Regions from separate parts of the Homo sapiens genome. Here all the other regions are linked to region 1. Evidence: promoter capture Hi-C in human tissues and cell types (Jung and others, 2019). All regions are on one chromosome and are shown on one strand. Each heading gives the region's core, a stretch centred on a gene start or on the middle of the fragment in contact. The rest is flanking DNA. Distances are from core to core; before and after follow the strand shown.

Region 1 (3,020 bases), core at 286-2,785:
TGGGATAACATTTATGGACAGGAAAAGGAAAGTGATGTACAGAAAAGCAAATGAGGTAGAGAAATAGCTGGATTCCATACAGCCTGGCGTTTGCCTTCTTTGAACAGGGTTTCAAAGGCTGACCACCTGTGACGGCCTGAAAATCAGCTGCTGTGATTGTCTGAGACTCAGGTACTTATAACAGTAGGTTACAGTCTGTTTACACATCTACTTAGGTTACAGTTCACTAAGTACAGAGAAACTTTTAGGCTAAACTTAAAATATTCAAGGAGGCAGCGTTAGGCTATACTTAACACCTACTTAGCACAGGTAACTAGAAGTGGCTAAAACAGAAACGAATTCTTGAATAACTGAGTGAATGCCACACTTAGAAAAGGTTGTTTTATGCAGCTAATTATAGAATCACGGACAAGAACTGAAAGAGTTGCTGCCTGAACTTTCCACTCGAGGTCTGTGTTAGAATTTAGGAAACGCCACCCTGATAAATGACTGCAAAAGACAAGAATGCACCATCCCCAAACATGCCACCCTGGCATATTGATGACTTTGAGCTATAAGTAACAGAACCAAACAACACAGGATAACTTATTCAGCTACCCCTCAACTGCCTAAAATAAAGTATGACTGCTTTTTTTCCTTTTGTTCTTATTATTTTTCGACTCGCCTGTTGTAAACAGAAATTTACACCTATAAAGGAAATTTTCTGTAGTAAATGTATCTGTATCAGGAAGACAGCTGCTTGGGGGCAACTTTTATCGCCTGAGCGCCTCATCGGGATAACAAAGCAACCTTTATTCACCATACATTTCCCCCATCACCCTTCCAAAAGGTCTCCACCACGCCCCAAAAGGCCCACGCCCCTATTCCCTGGCCCTTCTTTGTCTCCCACTTTTGTGGCCCTCTAGTGCACGGGTACATAATTAAAAGTTTTTCTCCTGTTAATCTGTCTTATGACAATTTAATTTGTGGCCCAGCTTAAGAACTTAGAAGGGTAGAGGGAAACCATATTTCCTTCCCCTACATTTGAATCTTCTTTACACCACACTCTCCCGGGTCATTTGGACTCTCCTGGAACCCCCTGGAGCTAGGGAAGCGCAGGGCCTCCCAAGTCAGATTCTGCTTGGTGCCGAGCGGCAGTTGGCTCCCTGAACGCCCCGCCAGGAGGATGGACTTCAAGTCCTTGACCGCGGCGCCCGACATCGGTCGCCCGCACCAGGCTCCTGCCGGGCCCAGCCCCCCTGCCTGCTCGCGGGGGCTCGGAGGACCCGGCCTAGCGCCCACCGCGGCGTCCCGCGCCCCGGGCCCCTGGCTTCAGAAGACTGGCCGCGCGCGGACGGCAGCTCGGGACTCACAAGGACTCCAGGTGCTTGAGCTGCTGCAGCTGCTGCGCGTCGTGTCGCCGCCGCTTCTGCTCCCGACGTCGCTGCAGCTCCTGCTCCGGCGGCTCACGCGGCCGCCGCGCGCCCGCAGCCCCCACGTCCTCGCGCCCAGGCCGGGACGACATGTCAGCCCCCGCAGCGCCGCTCGGGCAACCCCCGCGGCGCGGCTCCGGCGGCGGCGGCGGCGGCGGCGGCAGCCAAGAGAGCACTTCCTCCGCGCGGCGGTCGCGGGGCTTCGCAGCGCCCCCTCCCGCCGCCGCCCCGCAACTCACCCCGGCGGCCCCGAAGTCTCAGCCTCGGCCACCCGATCCCCGCCTCCCCGCGTCGGGCCCCAAGTCAGGGGCTCCGGGTCTCGGGCCCAGCCGCCAGGCGGGCTGCTGCGGGTGGGTGGGGAGCGCCGCCTAGCTGGAGCCGAAGCGGGGCGAGGCGCTAGTTGGGAGCCTGGAGGTTCCCGCCCGGCCACACCCACCTCAGGTATACTAGCAACAGTCACATAGGGATGAGCAGATGAAATGTATTCATAAAAAAATGTTCAAATTAGCCAGGCGTGGTGGCGGGCGCCAGTAGTCCCAGCTACTTGGGTGGCTGAGGCAGGAGAATTGCTTGAACCCAGGAGGCAGAGGTTGCAGTGAGCCGAGATGGTGCCCCTGCACTCCAGTCTGGGCGAAAAAGCGAGATTGTCTCTCAGAAAAAAAAAAAAAAAAGTGTTCAAAAAGTGAAATGTATAAACATATAATTATGTTCGGTAATAGTGTGCACCCAGCTTTATAACTGCGGTCATCTGATATACCATGAGAGACAACCTAACTCTTTTGACAGGATGGGTCACCATGACGTCACCACTGTGCCAGTCACCCGAGGAGCCAAGATCCTGAGAAATTTCATCTTTCACAAATGCAGATGTACAGAAAAGACACTTATTTATTTATCGAGGAAATTTCTACATTTTTGCATATATGTAGAATGCTTACACAGTCACCATTGTAATAATGAGCTTTGATTGAGTCATATTTGCAAAAAATGCATAAAACAAATTTGAACTCTCTAAAAGTCTTTATATAGTTGATGCCTCCAGTATTAGAAATGATGTTAAGATGTAATACATAGCATAGTGAATTGTAAAACATAATGCTGACAATTTACAATAATGAAAAAGCTAAAAGAGAAAATAGAAAAACGAAAGCAAACTAAAAAGAAAATTCAACATAGAAAAAGTGTATTGCAGGGATAGATTATGGGCAATTGCATGGCGATTGTCCACATGAACTGCCCAACTTTTATGATGATTAACATATTTTGAAGTCTTGCATCATGATGAATAGCTTTTTTTTTTTTCTTTTAGGACATGGCTCTCCTCGATGATACAGTCTCATTAATTTTCTATGTGATACTGCTCTTTCCAAAATTCTTTTTAACTTTTTAAAGTTTTTTATTTTGTAGAGACGGGGTCTCGCTATGCTGCTTAGGCTGGCCTTGAACTCCTGGCCTCAAGCAATCCTCCTGCCATAGCCTCCCAAAACACTGGGATTACAGGTGGGAATCACTGCACCTGACTATGAAATTATTTTGTGATTTGATATTCTCTGACTTCTCTTTGTGCTTTCTTTCTGTTGTACCCTCCTGTCCATGAACCCCTCTGTT
Region 2 (3,020 bases), core at 259-2,758, 410 kb before region 1:
AATCAACTCAAGATGGATGAAAGACTTGAAAACTATAAAAAACCTAGAAGAAAATAGGAAAGGCCATGGACATAGGCCTTGGCAAAGACTTCATGATGAAAATGCCAAAAGCAATTGCAGCAAAAACAAAAATTGACAAATGGGATCTAACAAAACTAAGAGGTTCTGCACAGTAAAAGAAACTAACAACAGAGTAAACACACAGCCTACAGAATGGGGGAAAACACCTGCAAACTACACATCTGACAAAGGTCTAATATCCAGTACCTAAAAGGAACTTAAACCAACAAGCAAAAACAAACGGCCTCATTAAAAATGGGCAAAAAATGTGAACAGACACTTATCAAAAGGAGACATGCATGTAGGCAACAAGCATATGAAAAAATGTTCACCATCACTAATCATTAGAGAAATGCAAATCAAAACCACAGTAAGATGCCATCTCACACCAGTCAGAATGGCTATGATGAAAAAGTTTAAAAAAAAAAAGATGCTGGTGAAGTTTTGGAGAAAAGAGAACACTTATACACTGCTGGTAGAAATGTAAACCAGTTTGGCCACCGTGGAAAGCAGTTTGGAGATTTTTCAAAGAATTTAAAATGGAGCTATCATTCAACCCAGCAATCCCATTACTGGATATATACCCAAAGGAATATAAATTGTTCTACCATAAAAACACATATACACGTATGTTCATTGCAGCATTATTCACAATAGCAAAGACATGGAATCAACCTAAATGCCCATCAACGGCGGAATGGATAAAGAAAATATGGTACATATATACCATGGAATACTATACAGCCATATAAAAAGAATGAGATCATGTCCTCTGTAGCAACACAGATGGAGCTGGAGGCCAGTTTCCTAAGTGAACTAACACAGAACAGAAAACCAAATACTGTATGTGCTCCTTATAAGTACGAGCTAAACATTGAGCACACATGGACAAAAAGAAGGGAATAACAGGCACCAGGGCCTACTTGAGGGTGGAGGGTGGGAGGAGAGTGAGGACTGAGAAAATACCTATCAGGTACTATGCTTATTACCTGGGTGACAAAATAATCTGTACACCAAACCCCATGACATGTGATTTACCTATATAACAAACCTGCAAATGTACCCCTGAACCTAAAATAGAAGTTGGAAGGAAAAAAATTCATTGCACAAATGGAAACAATAAAATCTACAATTTGAACATGTATTTGAATAGCTAGACGTGTCATCAGAACAATTCTTGGTGCTTATTTAAGCACCCAGAGCTACCTAAAGAGAACATGAGGTTTAAGAACCACTGATGAGGAATCAAAGCCCTACTTTGAAGAGTATAAATATATAAGCATTATATACATATATACACACATATTTTAAAGAATTATAAAATGAACACTTGTATACTTAACACCAAGAAATTGAATATTAACATTGAAGCACCCAGGGCTTCTCCTGTATTGCATTCTTTCCTAGAAGTGATCACCAGCCTGTTTTGAATTAACTATGCCTATGCTTTCGCTGTTTTGCCACACTATATCTTCTATAATATTGTTGTCTTGTTTGTTTTTAGGGCATATGTAAATGGCATATATATTGACATGCACACTCATCCCCTTTGATGACTTAGTTTTTTATCTTTAACAGTCTATTTGACATTGGTTCCCGCTGACACTTTTGACTGTAGATCACATTCACTCATTTACAATATTACTTTGTATGGAAATATTCATTTTATCCATTCTGTTGGTGGGCCTTTGAGTTGTTTTCAGCTTTTTTTTCTCAGGTACAAATAATGCTTCCATGAAGATTCATGTAATTGGTTTCCTTGGTATATTTGTACCAATATTTCTTTAGGGTGAAACTATAAATTGCAGACACTATATACCTTAAAACTTATTAGGTAATAACGACTTATTTTCTTTTTATTATTATTATACTTTAAGTTTTAGGGTACATGTGCACAACGTGCAGGTCTGTTACATATGTATACATGTGCCATGTTGGCATGCTGCACCCATTAACTCGTCATTTAGCATTAGGTGTATCTCCTAATGCTATCCCTCCCCCCTCCCCTCACTCCACAACAGTCCCCGGTGTGTGATGTTCCCCTTCCCACGTCCATGTGTTCTCATTGTTCAATTCCCACCTATGAGTGAGAACATGCCGTGTTTGGTTTTTGGTCTTTGTGATAGTTTGCTGAGAATGATGGTTTCCAGTTTCATCCATGTCCCTACAAAGGACATGAACTCATCATTTTTTATGGCTGCAGTGAGCCAAGATCGTGCCACTGAACTCCAGCCTGGGCGACAGAGCAAGACTCCATCTCAAAAAAAAAAGGGAGAACCAAGGATTTTATATCTAGCCAATCTGTCATTCAAGTATAGATGTTATAAAAAAAGTTTCAAATATGCAATAATTGAGGAAATAATAGTAACCTTCTCAAATACAAAAAGTTTAAAAGAGAATCATATACAGAAACAAAGCAAATATAGTCAAATACACATAAAACTTACAACAAAGGTTCTCACATTATCTCACAAAGCAAAGACAGACTCAACTTATGCTACACAGGGAAGACAAATACAAACAGATTCAGAAAGGTGAAAAATAGAATGATGGCATCAGCATGGCAGGCAATACCATTTCCATATGCAAACTAAGGAAGACATTTAAAGCAAGGATAAGAAGCAAATTCATGGCCTCAAAAGCTTTATCAATAAAAATGAAAGAGTGAAAATAAATGAATTAAATTCTTGACTTAAAAATCTAAATAAATAACAAAATAAAGCAAAAAAAGTATACTAAAGGAAATACTCATGAGAAGAATAGTCTATTATATCTACCCCTCTGTGTATCTATTTTGCGTTTTATATTTCTTCTCTATATTCTAGGATTCCTTCTTTCATTTCCTTTTTGTTTTCAGAATTTTTAAATTTTAAGTTCAGGGATACATGTGCAGGATGTGCATGTTTGTTACATAGGTAAACGCGTACCATGGTGGTTTGCTGCACCTAACAACTTATTAC
Region 3 (3,020 bases), core at 196-2,695, 370 kb before region 1:
GAATCTAATTAGCTTTTAATAATTCAGAGTCCTTTTCACACTTGGCTGCTTTTCTTTTCCTGTACAATTTTGTGTTTTCTCTTTTGTCTTTTAAAAATTTGTTAGTTAAAAAAAACTGTTTAGTTTTACAACCCTCCCTCATTTGTATAAATCTCCTCTCAGATTATTCATATAATGAGTATTGCCTGAATTTCATTTTCTTGTTAAAGTCTCTTTTGAGACCCTCTGACCTACCCTGTTCTGAAATGATTATCCTATGAGATCCCTCTTTGTTCATCATCATCTTGGAAATTGTATTTGCCTGCTTCTCTCTTATGTTCAGTTTCCTGGTTCCTTGAATTTATGTGTCTTCTTTCTTGATGTTCTCCATTGTTTTTAGTTGATATAATCTCATAGTTCCTACTGAGAAAGAATATGTGTAAGGTAAAATTTTTTTGAGGCTTCCATTCCTGAAAATATTTTATTTCTGCCCTCATTTTTGATTAGTACTTTGACTTGATATAGAATTCTAGGTTGAAGTTATTTTCCCTGAGAATTTAAAATGTGTTGCCTTGTTGCCTTCTGGCTTCTAGTGTTGCTGTTGAGCACATAGATGTCATTATGGTTTTTGATCCTTTGTATGAAAATTTCATTATTACATGCCATGGGAGGGAACTCTTTTCATTCATTGTGCAACATATTTGGTAGGCTCTTTGAGTCAGCTGCTTTCTGTGATTTTTTTTTTTTTTGCCATTTTTTTCTTTGATGATTTAGATGTTGTACACCTAGAGTAATCCTTTGCTTTTTCTTTTTTCTCTTCAATTTTTTTATGTCTTTGGTTTTTGTTCTTTTTTTCTTTTGAGGGATTTATTTATTTAATTAAAGACAAGGTCTTGAGGCTCTGTCACCTAGGTTGGAGTATAGTCATGTGATCCTAGCTCACTGCAGCCTTAAACTCCTGGGCTCAAGTGATCCTCCTGCCTCAGCCTCTTGAGTAGTTGGGATTACAGGTGCATGCCACCATGCCCAGATAGGGACTTTTAAAAATGTGATCTTATAACTCTTTTGTCAGTTTTTATTTGTTTCTGTAATTTTAATTTTTAACTTAATTTTTAATGTTTTTTAAAATTTCTGAGGTCTTTAAAAAAATAATGTTTTTTTCATATATTCCATTTTTGTTTTGTGGGTACAATATCTTTTTCTAAGAATATTACTGATGCGTATTTACATGTGCATCTGTTTGTGTATAAGTCTATATATGTATGTGTATGTATATATATGTATGTGTATGCTTTGTTCCCTTTCCTGATGACTCAGTTTCTTCCCACTTGCTTTTTCTGTTTGTTTGGCTTCATTCTTTTGTTAGATATTTTCTTTAAATGTTTGGTGATCTTTGGCCTACTCCTGATACTTTTAAAGTGGGGGGCACTAAAAAGCAAATTGGAAGCTCTCTGTGCATGTAATGTCCTCTGTCTGGGCCATTTTCTTAGGAATATTACTGTCTTTTCTCTTGGGCTGGTCATATTTTCCAGAAATGGCTTTTCTTGCCTGGAAGACACAATCGTTTCTGCTAGTGGTCTAGGAGCAGAGTAAGAATAAGATTGAGAGTCTTAATACTCAAAGTGATACTTTCATTTAATCTCCATATTTAGTATCAATACAGGACCTCTGCCTTCAGCTATTCCTGTTGTCTGCAAGTCTAGAAACTTTTCCCTCTCCTAATAACAAATTTGTAGTAGAGTGCCAGGGTTGGGGTTGCTTAGCTGCTGCAAGTCAGGGAGGACAACTGGGAGATCTCACGGCTTCCACACAGACTGGCGATGAATCTTTCTCTTTTAGGCCTGCCTTCACCCCTGCTTCCAGAGATATCTTGTGCTTGCCAATTCTTGTGCCTGCTGTAAAGCAGTTTGCTTCTCTGCTTTCCTAGTTCTGCAGTGAAAATTATTACTCATTAATTTTCTTTCCAGAGTCTAAAGGTACTGCTTTTTATTTCATCTTCTTGAATTTTTTATAGGCGTATTCCCTTTAAAAATTACATTTTTATCATTTTAGTAGGATGTTTGGACTGAGCGGAAGCTAATGAATGTGTACAACTAATTATCTTTACTTAGAAGTTTTCTTTTTTTAATTGCAGAAGAAATAAGAATTCGCTCCTATAAAAATTTAGATGATGCAGCTGGGCGTGGTGGCTCACGCCTGTAATCCCAGCACTTTGGGAGGCCGAGGCGGGTGGATCACCTCAGCTCGGGAGTTTGAGACCAGCCGGACTAACATGGTGAAACCCTGTCTCTACAAAAATTAGCCGGGCATAGTGATGCATGCCTGTAATTTCCAGCGACTCGGGAGGCTGAGGCAGGAGAATTGCTTGAACCCAGGAGGCGTAGGTTGCAGTGAGCTGAAATCGCACCATGGCACTCCAGCCTGGGCAACAAGAGCGAAACTATGTCTCAAAAAAAAAAAAAAAATTCAGATCATTCAAAAAAAGTGAAAGTCACTTTCAGTCCTCTGGTATGAACATGTTCAACTAGTCCTCTAAGGAATCTAATGGTTTTCAAGCTTTTTTTTTCTTTTTTTTGAGACAGAGTCTCACTCTGTTGCCCAGGCTAGAGTGCAGTGGCACCATCTCGGTTTACTGCAACCTGTCTCCTGGGTTCAAGCAATTCTCCTGTCTCAGCCCCCCAAGTGGCTGAGATTACAGGTGTGTACCACCATGCTTGGCTAATTTTTGTATTTTTAGTAGAGACAGGGTTTTACCATGTTGGCCAGGCTGGTCTCGAACTCCTGACCTCAGGTGATCTGCCTGCCTCGGCCTCCCAAAGTGCTGGAATAAAGGAACTGTGTATTAACATGTTAACAATTCATAACTGCACTTCTTATGACATTTTGAAAATCTATGTATAGTTACAGAACAATGGGTTTTGTTAAACTATCACATTTATACTTGCAGAAATTATTTCATCATTATTAGTAGGAATTTTATTGGTTCAATAAAATTGGCAAAACTGAAAAAAAATAGAAATTTATATCTTACAATTCTGGAG
Region 4 (3,020 bases), core at 353-2,852, 350 kb before region 1:
GGATCCTCCGCGTGGAGCACCTTGGGGCGCCCCTTGGCAGGTTCCCGCCGCATAGGGCCGACTTTTCCACCTCTGGCTCCAGGGCGGGAAGATTGTAGCGGCTTTGAGCTTACTACTTGTTTTCTTATAATCCCTGGCGGAGCTGGGTCAATTTCAGGCACAGCCCAGCTCAGTCAGGCGAGGTCCAGAAAGGCCTGACTTGCCTGGCAGCCTCAACGGACTTGTCCCCGCAGCCCTTGCGGACCTCCTGGTCGTCATGGCGACTGTGAAATGTGGGGTGGGGAGCATGCGTTCGAAGCCATTTGCGCGGGCAGTCCCTGCGTGTCCCCCCACGTGCTCCCCAGCACTCGCAGGACCCCCGCCTCCGAGCTTCCCTGAGCGTGCAGCTTCCAGTGAGGGCAGCCCCACGCACAGCCCCCCACACCCTCCCCAACGCCTTCAGCCCCCGGTGCGCGTAGTCCCCAAGCCCACACGTGCACTCTCCACCTTGCGGCAGCTGCACGTACAGCCCCCCACACGCTCCCAGCCCCACTGGCGCAGAACCCATCACCGCTCGCCCTTCACGCGCTTCACTGGGAGTGCAGCCCCCACCCCGAGCGCGCAGCTCCACGCAGCCTCTCCACACTCTCCCCAGCGCCTGCAGCACCCCCAGTGCGCACAGCTCTGCCAGTCGCTTCCCCGCGTGCCGCCCCTGCACCACTTCGGGCCATAACCTTGCTGGCGACTAAGTCTGAAGAACTTCCCGTGATTTAATTCTTTTCTTCGAGTTTAGTCTTAGCTTTGACATTTTAACCAAAAGGTTACACGTTAATTTATGGTATGAGGTCACCACTTCTCCTATTGTCCTTCTCAGTTTCTCCCCAACCTCTCCTATTCCCTATTTTATAAGACAGGAGAAAAGGGAGAAAGCAAAAAGTTAGAAAGAAACAGAAGTAAGATAAATAGCTGGAGGACCTTGGCACCACCACCTGGCCCTGGTGGCTAAAATAATAATAATATTATTAACCCCTGACCAAAACTATTGGTGTTATGTGTAAATTCCAGACACTGTATGAGAAAGTACTGTAAAACTTTTTGTTCTGTTAGCTGATGTATGTAGCCCCCAGTCACGTTTTTCACGCTTACTTGATCTATTATGACTTTTTCACGTAGACCCCTTAGAGTTGTAAGCCCTTAAAAGGCCTAGGAATTTCTTTTTCGGGGAGCTCCGCTCTTAAGACACGAGTCTGCCGACGCTCCCGGCCGAATAAAAAACCTCTTCCTTCTTTAATCTGGTGTCTGAGGAGTTTTGTCTGCGACTCGTCCTGCCACAAATTAACGAAGTATTAAAGGGGAAGATCTCAGCTGAAAGAAATGACTGTAGGAAGTGTGTCAGGAAAGCCAACGGACCCGCAGGCCCGCCCGTGGTGCCCGCGGCATTAGGAACGTCTCTGCTCTCCTACGATCGCTGGGGTATCGGACAGTCAGTGCCCGCTGTCAATGCGGAGGGAACGGGCCGAGACTGCGGGCAACACGTGGCAGAGCCGGCCTGAGTCCGGTGGGTCTGATCCCAGAGCCTCAGGTTGACGCCAATTCCTTGGCATGGGACAGCGTTTACTGAATCTTAAAGCAAAATGCTTTTAAAATAAGGTTCCTCAGAAGTCGTCAGCCCTAGGAGCGGTGTGCTCAAGCGCTTTCAGCACCAGCCAGGACCAACTAAGAGGGGAGCCCTTAGCTCCCAGTCACCGCGCAGCCCTACAGGAGGCCAAAGCGGCTGGCACAGATGCACTGGGGCCACTGACATTTTCCATGTCCTCTTGTCACGGGCCATATGCTGGATGGAGCCCACACCGCTTCACTTCCCATCTGTCTGATGATGGATCAAATTGAACTCCCATATCCTAACTGACCAGTCTAAATCATGGCTCATTGTGGCCAGGTTAATTTTTCCTGATGCAACACAGCACAAAAATGTTCATGGCTCCCCATAGCCCACAAATCAAGTCCTAGGCTTGCTCACCAATGCCTTCAATAATTGCCCAATATACCTTTTCAACTTTAATTTCCCACTTCCTCAGGCACAAATCTTCCATCCCAGTCATTTCAGGTGAGGTCCACAGCCTGAGACACCATAACTGCTGAATTCCTTTACTCATATGGAAAAGCCACCCCTTGGCTTTTACATCCTTTTCTCCCTGCCCATCTGAATGCTATCACCTTCCAAGCCCCAGCCCATTTCTCCAGTCCATATTAATTATGCTTTTTCTGAAGGTCTAGAGCACTTAACTGACAGTACTATTTATCTTGTCATTCATTTAAATTCAGTAAGTGCTATTACTGTTCATTTCTTGTTTTGGGAGATTTTTTTTTAAGGAGCATTTCTACATTCCTGGCATTGTGTTTGGTGCTCAAAATGTTTTCTTACTTAATTCATGCAATAACTATATGCAAATTTTAAAATCAAGCATCAGGATGTAGTTATTTGCCCAAGTTTTAACAGCTAATAAATTCTATCTGTCCAATACTGCATTTAAAATACAAAGTATTTATGGTGGTTGTTAAGAATATATTCTTGAATGGCTAGGCAAACTCAAAATAAAGGACCTTATTTTAAAGTATGACTTTTTAATTTTTTTGCAACAATAAGTGAAGTGGAGTGATTGTTTTTCTTTTTAGTCAGTTTGTTTCTTCTGGAGTTTCCAACTGCCTTTTGCATCACTTGGTGTCCTGGTGGGATAAAATATGCTCTTACCCATGATCTAGTCCTTGAAAGTGCAAATCTGGTCATTTTATCATTTAAAAAATTAATCTTTTTATAAGAATGTTCATTGTGCTATTATTTATATCGTTGAAAAAATAGAAATGGCCTCAATGCCAAACACTAAGTTATGAAACATTCATATAATGAAGCATTACAGCCACTAAAGTCATTTTGCATGGATATTTAATAATATGGGAAAATAGTCATGATATAGTGTTAAAGGAAAAATGAAGCAGGATATATTTTATGATTCATATGTTTAGTAACACATAAAATTAAC
Region 5 (3,020 bases), core at 197-2,696, 310 kb before region 1:
GCAATCAGATATTTTTCAATACAATTTTAATGTCATGCTTTTGTTTAGAACATTTATTACCCTTGAAATAAAATCCAGGTTATTTTCTGATTTATAAGGCCTTTTGAATCTGGTCTTTGCTTGCTTTTCTGGACTAATTTCCTTCTTCACAATTTACAAACTGACCAAATTGAATGTTTTAGTTACTTTAATGGGCCTTCTTTTCATACAGTTTTTTCTGCCTTAAGCACCATTCCCCATGGACTGGTTAAATCTTAGGTAACCATACATCCTAGTTTATGCTTGTTTTCACTATCACTCTCAAAAGTGTGCCTGTTTGGATGGTAAATGATATGGTAACCCTGGTTAAGTTCAATTTACACCTCATGTAACTTCCTCCAGGAGGCTTTAACAAAAATTCTATCTTGGTTCCTTTTGTTTAAATTTCAAATGCACCTCATATTACTTAACACCCAACTGTATTAGTCATTTTGATTGTCTTCACTGCTGTGAGGGCAAGGGCTTGTGTCTACCCTATTTATCTCTTTATCTTCAACACCTAAAAGTGTGTGGCACATAACAAGCACAGAACTGAACAAAACCTATGTAAAGGAGTGTATAGGTCATGAAGAAAAATTTAATTTCAGTAAAGTCATTCAGGCAACTATTTTGGAATTCTAATTAGTACTGAAATGTCTCTGACACCATGGAGAAAGGATTTGTCAAATAACCATCAAATGAGTTGGAATTAAAAAAAAAAAAAAACTTCCCAACATATAAAAATGATATAAACAAGTAGAGTTTATCTCATAAATAAAAGATTGCTTTAATATCAGAAAATCACATACCATACTAACAGAATAAAGGACAAAAACCATAGGACTGTGCCAATAGATACTGATATGGTTTGGCTCTGTGTCCCCACCAAAATCGCATGTGGAATTTTTTTTTATATATATATACAGAGTCTTGCTCTGTCACCAGGCTGGAGTGCAGTGGGGTGATGTCGGCTCACTGCACCCTCCGCCTCCCGGGTTCAAGCTATTGTCCTGCCTCAGCCTCCCTAGTAGCTGGGACTACAGGCGTGCGCCACCACGCCTGTGCACCTGGATAATTTTTTGTATTTTAGTAGAAACAGGGTTTCACCATGTTGGTCAGGCTGGTCTCCAACTCCCGATCTCAGGTGATTCGCTCGCCTCGGCCTCCCAAAGTGCTGGGATTACCGGCATGAGCCACTGCGCCCGGCCTCATGTGGAATTTTTAGTCCGCACATGTTAGGGTAGGGAACTGGTGGGAGGTGACTGGATCATGGGGGCAGTTCTCCATGCTGTTCTTGTGATAGTGAGTTCTCACTAGATATGATGGTTTAAAAGTGTGGCACATCCCCCTTTGCACTTGCTCTCTCTCTCTCTCCTTCTCTCCTTTGTCTCTCTCCTCTCTCTCTTCTCTCTCTCTCGTCGCCATGTAAGATATGGCTTGTTTCTCCTTTGCCTTCTGCCATAATTGTAAGTTTCCTGAGGCCTCTCCAGCCATGTGGAACTGTGAGTCAATTAAACATCTTTTCTTTATAAACTGCCCACTCTCAGGTAGCTCTTAATAGCAGTGTGAAAATGGACTAATACATAGAAAAATTATTTGACAAATTAGAGGACCCATTTATGATTAAAACTCACCAAATTAGGAAGAGAAAGAAACTTCCTCAACCTGATGAGGAACATCTATGAAAAATCTACAGCTAATATGTATAATAGTGAAAGATGGAAAACTTTCCCCCTACCATCAGGAGCTAAACAAAGATGTCAGCTTTCACCACCTCTATTCACAATTGTACTGGAAGTCCTAACTGAGGCAATAAGACAAGGAAAAGAAAAAATTTAACCCTCAATAGTTTAAGGAAAAATGAAAAGGCATATGGCTTTGAAGGAGTCTCAAAAAACAAAACAAAAACTCTAGAAATAATAACGTAGCCGGATTACAAGATAAAGACCAATATAAGCCAAGCTTGGTGGCTCATGCCTGCAGTCCCAGCTACTGAGGTGGCTGACGTGGGAGGGTCACTTAAGCCCTGTAGTTCAAGGCTAGCCTGGGCAACAGAGCAAGACCTCATCTCTGAAAAAAAAAAAAAAAGTCAATAAACAACTGCATTGTATGTACTATCAACTATTAAAAAACATTTTTTTTTTGAGGTAAGGTCTCACTCTGTCACCCAAGCTGGAGTGCAGTGGTGCCATCATGGTTAACTGCAGCCTCAACCTCCCAGTCTCAATCAGTCCTCCCACTGCAGCCTCCTGAGTACCTGAGACTGCAGGCACAAGCTACCATGCCCGGCTAATTTTCATATTTTTTGTAGAGATGGGGTTTTGTCATGTTGCCCAGGCTGGTCTCAAACTCCTGGGCTCAAGCAATTTGCCCACTTTGATCTCCCAAAGGGCTGGGATTATGTTACTGTGCCCAGCCATAAAAAAATTAACAGTGTCATTAAAGAAAACCATTTAGCAATAAATTCAACAAGAGATGTATAAGAACTGTACACTATATAACATTGCTGAGAGAGATTTAAAAAGATCTGAAGAGAGAAATATACCATGTTCATAGTTTGGAGGAGTTGATATTGGTAAGTTGGTAATTCTCTCCAAATTGGTCTGCAGATTCAATGCAATTGTTATCAAACCACCACTATGTTTTTTTTCCTTTTTTTGCAGAAATGGATGGGCTGATTATAACGTTTATGTGGAAAAGCAAAGGTCCTACAATAGTCAAAACAATTTTTACAAAAAGAACAAAGGAGACTTACTCTAAACTATTTCAAAATTTTATTATAATAAAGATAACATGGTACTGCATAAGGATAGACATAGATCAATGGGATATAATTGAATCCAGAAAGATCCTCACATACACATGTATAGTCCATATATATATATATATATATATATATATATATATATATATATTTTTTTTTTTTTTTTTTTTTTTTTTTTTTTTGAGATGGAGTCTTGCTCTGCTGCACAGGCTGGAGTCCAGTGGTGTGATCTTGGCTC
Region 6 (3,020 bases), core at 309-2,808, 290 kb before region 1:
TTGCAGAAAATAAATTTCAGATGAAGCAGAGAATTAGGTATAGAAAAAAAATAAAGCCCCAAAATTAACTAAGAGGGTAGGTTTATAATCTGAGAGTTAGGGAGGCCTACAGTATGCTTGGTATTTTCTGCCATCACACCCTTTCATCTTACTCTCTTACCATTTATCACCCTTTGTACTTAAATGTTGATGTGTGACCTGTATCTCCTGAAGGGAGGGATCATTTTTGTTCAACAGTTTATATACAGTGCCTGCAAGATAGTAAAGGATAGTAGTTGAATGAGTGAGTATTTACATATGACTAATGAACATGAAAAGGTAGTCTTGATCCTATGGTAAAGACATTCAGGTTGAAGTGAAGACCTTTTCACTTCTCATATTTCTAAAAATTAATAGTATACCCAATGCTTGCAAGAGTGGGAGGTAGTAGATGGGAGGGAAATTTGGCAATAAACAGTAAAACATATAGTGGGCCTGTACTTTAGCCCTGCAGGTTCTACCAGCGCAAGTGTACTCTCCAGAGATGCTCACAGAAATACAGAGATGATGGGGAGAAATGTCTTTTGTAGTATTGTGTGTAATGTGAGAAATGGAAACATCCAAAATATCTACTATGATCCAATCATAGAGTGGAATGTTAGGCCATCTTTCTGGAAATAGGTCCAGTATACATTATTGAATTTTAAAAATTGCCTCTGTGTGTGTGTGTGTGTGTGTGTGTGTGTGTGTGTGTGTGTGTGTGTGTGTGTGTATAGGATGATTATACTTCTGTTTAAAATTTGGAGATTTTTATGTGTTTGTGCATAGAAGTGATCTGGAAAGATAAATCCTGTAATTATTAAGAGTGTGGGATTGGAAGATGGAGTGAAGGTAGTTTTAACTTTACTTTTATTCTTTTGTAGGATTTTGGGAGGACAAGGATTGTCTAATGTATGTATCTATATTTTCTGTTCTTTTTTTTTTTTTTTTTTTTTTTGAGACAGAGCCTGGCTCTGTCGCCCAGGCTGGAGGAGTGCAGTGGCACGATCTTGGCTCACTGCAACCTCTGCCTCCCGGGTTCAGGCAATTTCATCTGCCTCAGCCTCCTGAATAGCTAAGACTACAGGCGACCACCACCATGCCTAGCTTATTTTTGTATTTTTAGTAGAGACAGGGTTTCACCATATTGGCCAGGCTGGTCTTGAACTCATGATGTCGTGATCTGCCTGCCTCAGCCTCCCAAAGTGCTGGGATTATAGGCATGAGCCACCTCACCTGGCCCTATATTTTCTTTTATAATTTGAATATACACACCCTTATATTATTCCCTCACCTCCAAGTCTCTGCCAACATAATGATAAATTATTGCACATACTCCTGAGAGAATCCTTGTTCTCACTTAGAAACAATTTACTGTAACATATACAGGTATATGTTTATACCTGTAACATTTGAGTTGAGGGCTAAGGGGGAAAGAAAAACGTTCTGGTTTACAATGCCGAAATTTTTCTTCATTTGAGGTGAAATTACTTTTGAAGAGCTCAGGAAGAAGCTACAAAGTTTCAGCTGTAGTATGCAGCTCTGGAAGAGGAAGGTGGAACTTCTCACAGAAACAAAGCTGTCCCTTCAAGAGTAATAACTCACCTATAGAAATAATTATAGGAAACCATTAAGCTTCATGGGGTTTTCAGTTCAAATAGGATCAGAGCTCTTTTTTGGAAGAGGAGTGGCAATGTTGACATTTTATTTTGCATAGCTACCAAAGCCAGTGTAAAAAGGAGAAGAGTAGGACATAAATTTTAACTATGAAAGACGTGAATGCCAATATTCTCTTTACTCAAAGACCCAGGAAGTAAAGTGGGTTAGAGGCAGCATGATGTAGTAAAAAGTATATTGGCTCTGAAGTCAGGCAGAATATAGTCCTGGCTGCCACTTAGCAGCTCTGTGATTCCCTTTCCTTGGCTGTAAATTGGGGTAATAAATGGTTGTAGGATTAGAGTTAATGGAATGTACTAAGCATATTAACATTGTAAGTACTCAACAAATGGTAACTGATAGTTTTTATGTGGAGTGAAACAAGAATAAAGAAAGAACTGTTTCATCTCCTTCACTAGCCCCCTATGTACTACTGAGTTTGCTAATATATCAGTCTTTTTGAGGCCAAATTCTCAAATTAGATTATATGCTACCTGGATTAACAGTTTTTTGTTTTTTTGTTTGTTTGTTTGAGACGGAGTCTCGCTGTGTTGCCCAGAATGGAGTGCAGCGGCACTATCTCGGCTCGCTGCAAGCTCCGCCTCCCAAGTTCACGCCATTCTCCTGCCTCAGCCTCCTGAGTAGCTGGGACTACAGGCGCCCGCCACCACACCTGGCTAATTTTTTGTATGTTTTTTTGGTAGAGACGGGGTTTCATTGTGTTAGCCAGGATGGTCTCGATCTCCTGACCTTGTGATCCGCCCACCTCAGCCTCCCAAAGTGCTGGGATTACAGGCGTGAGCCACCGCACCTGGCCTGGATTAACAGTTTATTGATACACTTGTTCATTCATTAAAAATGTTGAGCTGTAAGTGCCAGGTATTACTCTAGAACTTGGGAACATATCAGTGCTTAAGAAAGAGAAGGTGTGCGTTGTCAACTCACACATTTCTGTCTCTGACACAGACTTCTCCCTTGAACTCAGATTTACACATATAACCACCTATTTGTCATCTCTACTTGGTTGCCTAGTGAAAATCTCAAAGGTTTTTTTCATTCCATGCTTTGCTGGGTTATCACCAGTGAGGGAGCTGGGACACCACAGTGTGCCTTTGTTGTCCTAATAAATACCCATGTAGTCAAATAGGATATAATACAACATTGTCATTCTTCATAAATTTTCTTAAAATAGTATAGCACCAGTTTTGGCATGTAACTTTTAGTTATTTTGATTTGCCTATATGTGTCCTGAGAGAATGTTATAGAAGTTGTAAAACTCCTATTTGCAAGATGAAAATGCAAATATATGAAATAAGTGCTTCAATAATGAATTGATAGCAATATAT
Region 7 (3,020 bases), core at 148-2,647, 270 kb before region 1:
ACCTGCTGCCTACGGAGAACTACATCTCTAATGGTTTTAATGTTTTGCTAAGTCATGTGTTGTTCATATCCCAAAAACTTTTATAGGTAACTGTTTTCAAATAGAAAATGTTTTATTTGGTCAATTTGAATGTCATTCTAATTATAAAAATGACTCATACCTTTCATGCGCGTCCGTGTGAAGAGACCACCAAACAGGCTTTGTGTGAGCAACATGGCTGTTTATTTCACCTGGGTGCAGGTGGGCTGAGTCCAAAAAGAGAGTCAGCATAGGGAGATAAGGGTGGGGCCATTTTATAGGATTTGGGAAGGTAATGGAAAATTACAATCAAAGGGGGTTGTTCTCTGGTGGGCAGGGGTGGATCTCACAAAGTACATTCTCAAGTGTGGGGAGAATTACAAAGAACCTTCTTAAGGGTGGGGGAGATTACAAAGTACATTGATCAGTTAGGGTGGGGCAGGAACAAATCACAATGGTGGAATGTCATCAGTTAAGGCTGTTTTTACTTCTTTTGTGGATCTTCAGTTACTTTAGGCCATCTGAATGTATACGTGCAAGTCACAGGGGATGCGATGGCCTGGCCTGGGCTCAGAGGCCTGACATTCCTGCCTTCTTATATTAATAAGACAAATAAAACAAAATAGTGTTGAAGTGTTGGGGCGGCGAAAATTTTTGGGGGGTGGTATGGAGAGAGAATGGGTGATGTTTCTCAGGGCTGCTTCAAGCGGGATTAGGGGTGGCGTGGGAACCTAGAGTGGGAGAGATTAAGCTGAAGGGAGGTCTTGTGGTAAGGGGTGATATTGTGGGGATGTTAGAAGAAACATTTGTCGTATAGAATGATTGGTGATGGCCTGGATACGGTTTTGGATGAATTGAGCGAGCTTAATGTGTAGGGAAGGGAGGGGGCCTGAATAATCCCTGAGGAGTAGTAGAATAGCAGATGGAACACTGAGAAGTTATTTCCTTGAGGATAGATTTCCACGATGGAAAGGAAATGAGAGGTTCTAAGAGGCGGGATAGTGGCTTGTGCTATAGCATAGCCTGCCTTTGCTGGTGTGTGGCGATTAGGCCTGGTGGAACTGCCATCAATAAATCAAGCGTGATCAGGGTGAGGAACAGGAAAGAAGGAAATATGGGGAAATGGGGTGAATGTCAGGTGGATCAGAGAGATACAGTCATGGGGGTCAGGTGTGGTATCAGGAATAATGTGGGAGGCCAGATTGAAGTCCGGGCCAGGAACAATGGTAATTGTGGGACTTAACAAAGAGTGAGTACAGCTGAAGGAGCTGGGGAGCAGAAAGTATATGCGTCAGGTATAAGGAAGAAAAAGATTTCGGAAGTTATGAGAAATGTAGAGTGAGTTGAGCATAGTTTGTGATTTTTAGGGCCTCTAGAAGTATTAAAGCATCGGCAGCCGCTGCATGCAGACATGAGGGCTAGGCTAAAACAGTAAGGTCAAGTTGTTTGGACAGAAACGCTGCAGGGTGTGGTCCTGGCTCTTGTGTAAGAATTCTGACCATGCTAACCATGCCTAGGAAGGAAAGGAGTTGTTGTTTTGTAAGGGATTGAGGTTTGGGAGATTAATCGGACACGATCAGCAGGGAGAGCATGTGCGTTTTTATGAGAATTATGCTGAGATAGGTAACAGATGAGGATGAAATTTGGGCTTGACTGAAGTAATGGGGGCTGTCTGTGAAGCCTTGCGGCAGTACAGCCCAGGTAATTTGCTGAGCCTAATGGGTGTCAGGGTCAGTCTAAGTGAAGGCAAAGAGAGGCTGGGATGAAGGGTGCAAAGAAATAGTAAAGAAAGCATGTTTGAGATCCAGAACAGAATAATGGGTAATAGAGGGAGGTATTGAGGATAGGAGAATATATGGGTTGGGCACCATGGGGTGGATAGGCAAAACAATTTGGTTGATAAGGCGCAGATCCTGAACTAACTTGTAAGCCTTGTCTGGTTTTAGGACAGGTAAAATGGGGGAATGGTAAGGAGAGTTTATAGGTTTTAGAAGCCCATACTGTAGCAGGCGAGTGATAACAGGCTTTAATCCTTTTAAAGCATGCTGTGGGATGGGATATTGGCGTTGAGCAGGGTAAGGGTGATTCGATTTTAACGGGATGGTAATGGGCATGTGATCGGTTGCCAGGGAAGGAGTAGAGATGTCCCATATTTGTGGGTTAAGGTGGGGGGATATGAGAGGAAGATGCAAAGGAGGCTTTGGGCTGGGGAGAAGGGTGGCAATGAGATGCAGCTGTAGTCCAGGAATAGTCAGGGAAGCAGATAATTTGGTTAAAATATCTCGGCCTAATAAGGGAACTGGGCAGGTGGGGATAACTAAAAAAGAGTGCATAAGAGTGTTGTCCAAGTTGGCACCAGAGTGGGGGAGTTTTCAGGGGTTTTGAAGCTTGGCCGTCAATACCCACAACAGTTATGGAGGCAAGGGAAACAGGCCCTTGAAAAGAAGGTAATGTGGAGTGGGTAGCCTCCGTATTGATTAAGAAGGGGACGGACTTATCTTCCACTGTGAGAGTTACCCAAAGCTCGGCGTCCGTGATGGTCTACAGGGCTTCTGAGGCGATCGGGCAGCATGAGTCTTCAACCGCTAAGCCGAGAAGGAGTCAGTCAGAGAGCCTTGGGCCAGAGTTCCAGGGGCTCCGGGAGTGGCTGCCAGGTGAGTTGAACAGTCCGGTTTCCAGTGGGGTCCCACACAGATGGGACACGGCTTAGGAGGAATCCTGGGCTGCAGGCATTCCTTGGCCTGGTGGTCAGATTTCTGGCACTTGTAGCAAGCTCCTGGGGGAGGAGGTTCTGGAGGAACGCCTGGCCGCTGCGGTTCAGGCGTTTGGAAGTTCTTGTGTGCTGGAGATGTGGCTGGGATTTGTCTCACAGTGGAGGCAAGGAATTGCAACTTTTTTCTATTATTGTACACCTTGAACGCGAGGTTAATTAAATCCTGTTGTGGGGTTTGAGGGCCGGAATTTAATTTTTGGAGTTTTATTTAATGTCGGGAGCAGATTGG

Evidence for each region. Contacts are between HindIII fragments. The study calls those that stand out against the background at their distance.
Region 2: a contact is called between a fragment that was not itself captured here and the fragment with the promoter of RP9 in region 1, in 1 of the 25 tissues and cell types used here (dorsolateral prefrontal cortex).
Region 3: a fragment that was not itself captured here is called in contact with the fragment with the promoter of RP9 in region 1 in 1 of the 25 tissues and cell types used here (dorsolateral prefrontal cortex).
Region 4: a fragment that was not itself captured here is called in contact with the fragment with the promoter of RP9 in region 1 in 1 of the 25 tissues and cell types used here (spleen).
Region 5: a contact is called between a fragment that was not itself captured here and the fragment with the promoter of RP9 in region 1, in 1 of the 25 tissues and cell types used here (spleen).
Region 6: a fragment that was not itself captured here is called in contact with the fragment with the promoter of RP9 in region 1 in 1 of the 25 tissues and cell types used here (mesendoderm cells).
Region 7: a fragment that was not itself captured here is called in contact with the fragment with the promoter of RP9 in region 1 in 3 of the 25 tissues and cell types used here (H1 embryonic stem cells, heart right ventricle and spleen).

What each region holds. Positions count from the first base shown.
Region 1 is chr7:33,107,869-33,110,888 of GRCh38, forward strand. RP9 (RP9 pre-mRNA splicing factor) reads right to left here and starts at 1,536. Exons shown (of 6, transcript NM_203288.2): 1 at 1,353-1,536. The coding sequence starts at 1,504. RefSeq lists silencers at 1,192-1,421, 1,432-1,911. The HindIII fragment of the contact is 15,438 bases long and covers 1-3,020 here.
Region 2 is chr7:32,694,053-32,697,072 of GRCh38, forward strand. It overlaps the pseudogene DPY19L1P1. Among named protein-coding and RNA genes, the nearest start is that of MIR550A2, 37 kb to the right of the region's middle. The HindIII fragment of the contact is 7,417 bases long and covers 1-3,020 here.
Region 3 is chr7:32,740,460-32,743,479 of GRCh38, forward strand. No RefSeq gene overlaps it. Among named protein-coding and RNA genes, the nearest start is that of MIR550B2, 8.9 kb to the left of the region's middle. The HindIII fragment of the contact is 3,580 bases long and covers 1-3,020 here.
Region 4 is chr7:32,761,657-32,764,676 of GRCh38, forward strand. It overlaps LINC00997 (long intergenic non-protein coding RNA 997), which reads left to right. Exons shown (of 1, transcript NR_036501.1): 1 at 1-1,268. Among named protein-coding and RNA genes, the nearest start is that of LINC00997, 4.9 kb to the left of the region's middle. The HindIII fragment of the contact is 9,731 bases long and covers 1-3,020 here.
Region 5 is chr7:32,797,087-32,800,106 of GRCh38, forward strand. No RefSeq gene overlaps it. Among named protein-coding and RNA genes, the nearest start is that of LINC00997, 40 kb to the left of the region's middle. The HindIII fragment of the contact is 3,512 bases long and covers 1-3,020 here.
Region 6 is chr7:32,817,682-32,820,701 of GRCh38, forward strand. No RefSeq gene overlaps it. Among named protein-coding and RNA genes, the nearest start is that of LINC00997, 61 kb to the left of the region's middle. The HindIII fragment of the contact is 4,532 bases long and covers 1-3,020 here.
Region 7 is chr7:32,838,581-32,841,600 of GRCh38, forward strand. It overlaps the pseudogene DPY19L1P2. Among named protein-coding and RNA genes, the nearest start is that of KBTBD2, 52 kb to the right of the region's middle. The HindIII fragment of the contact is 4,977 bases long and covers 1-3,020 here.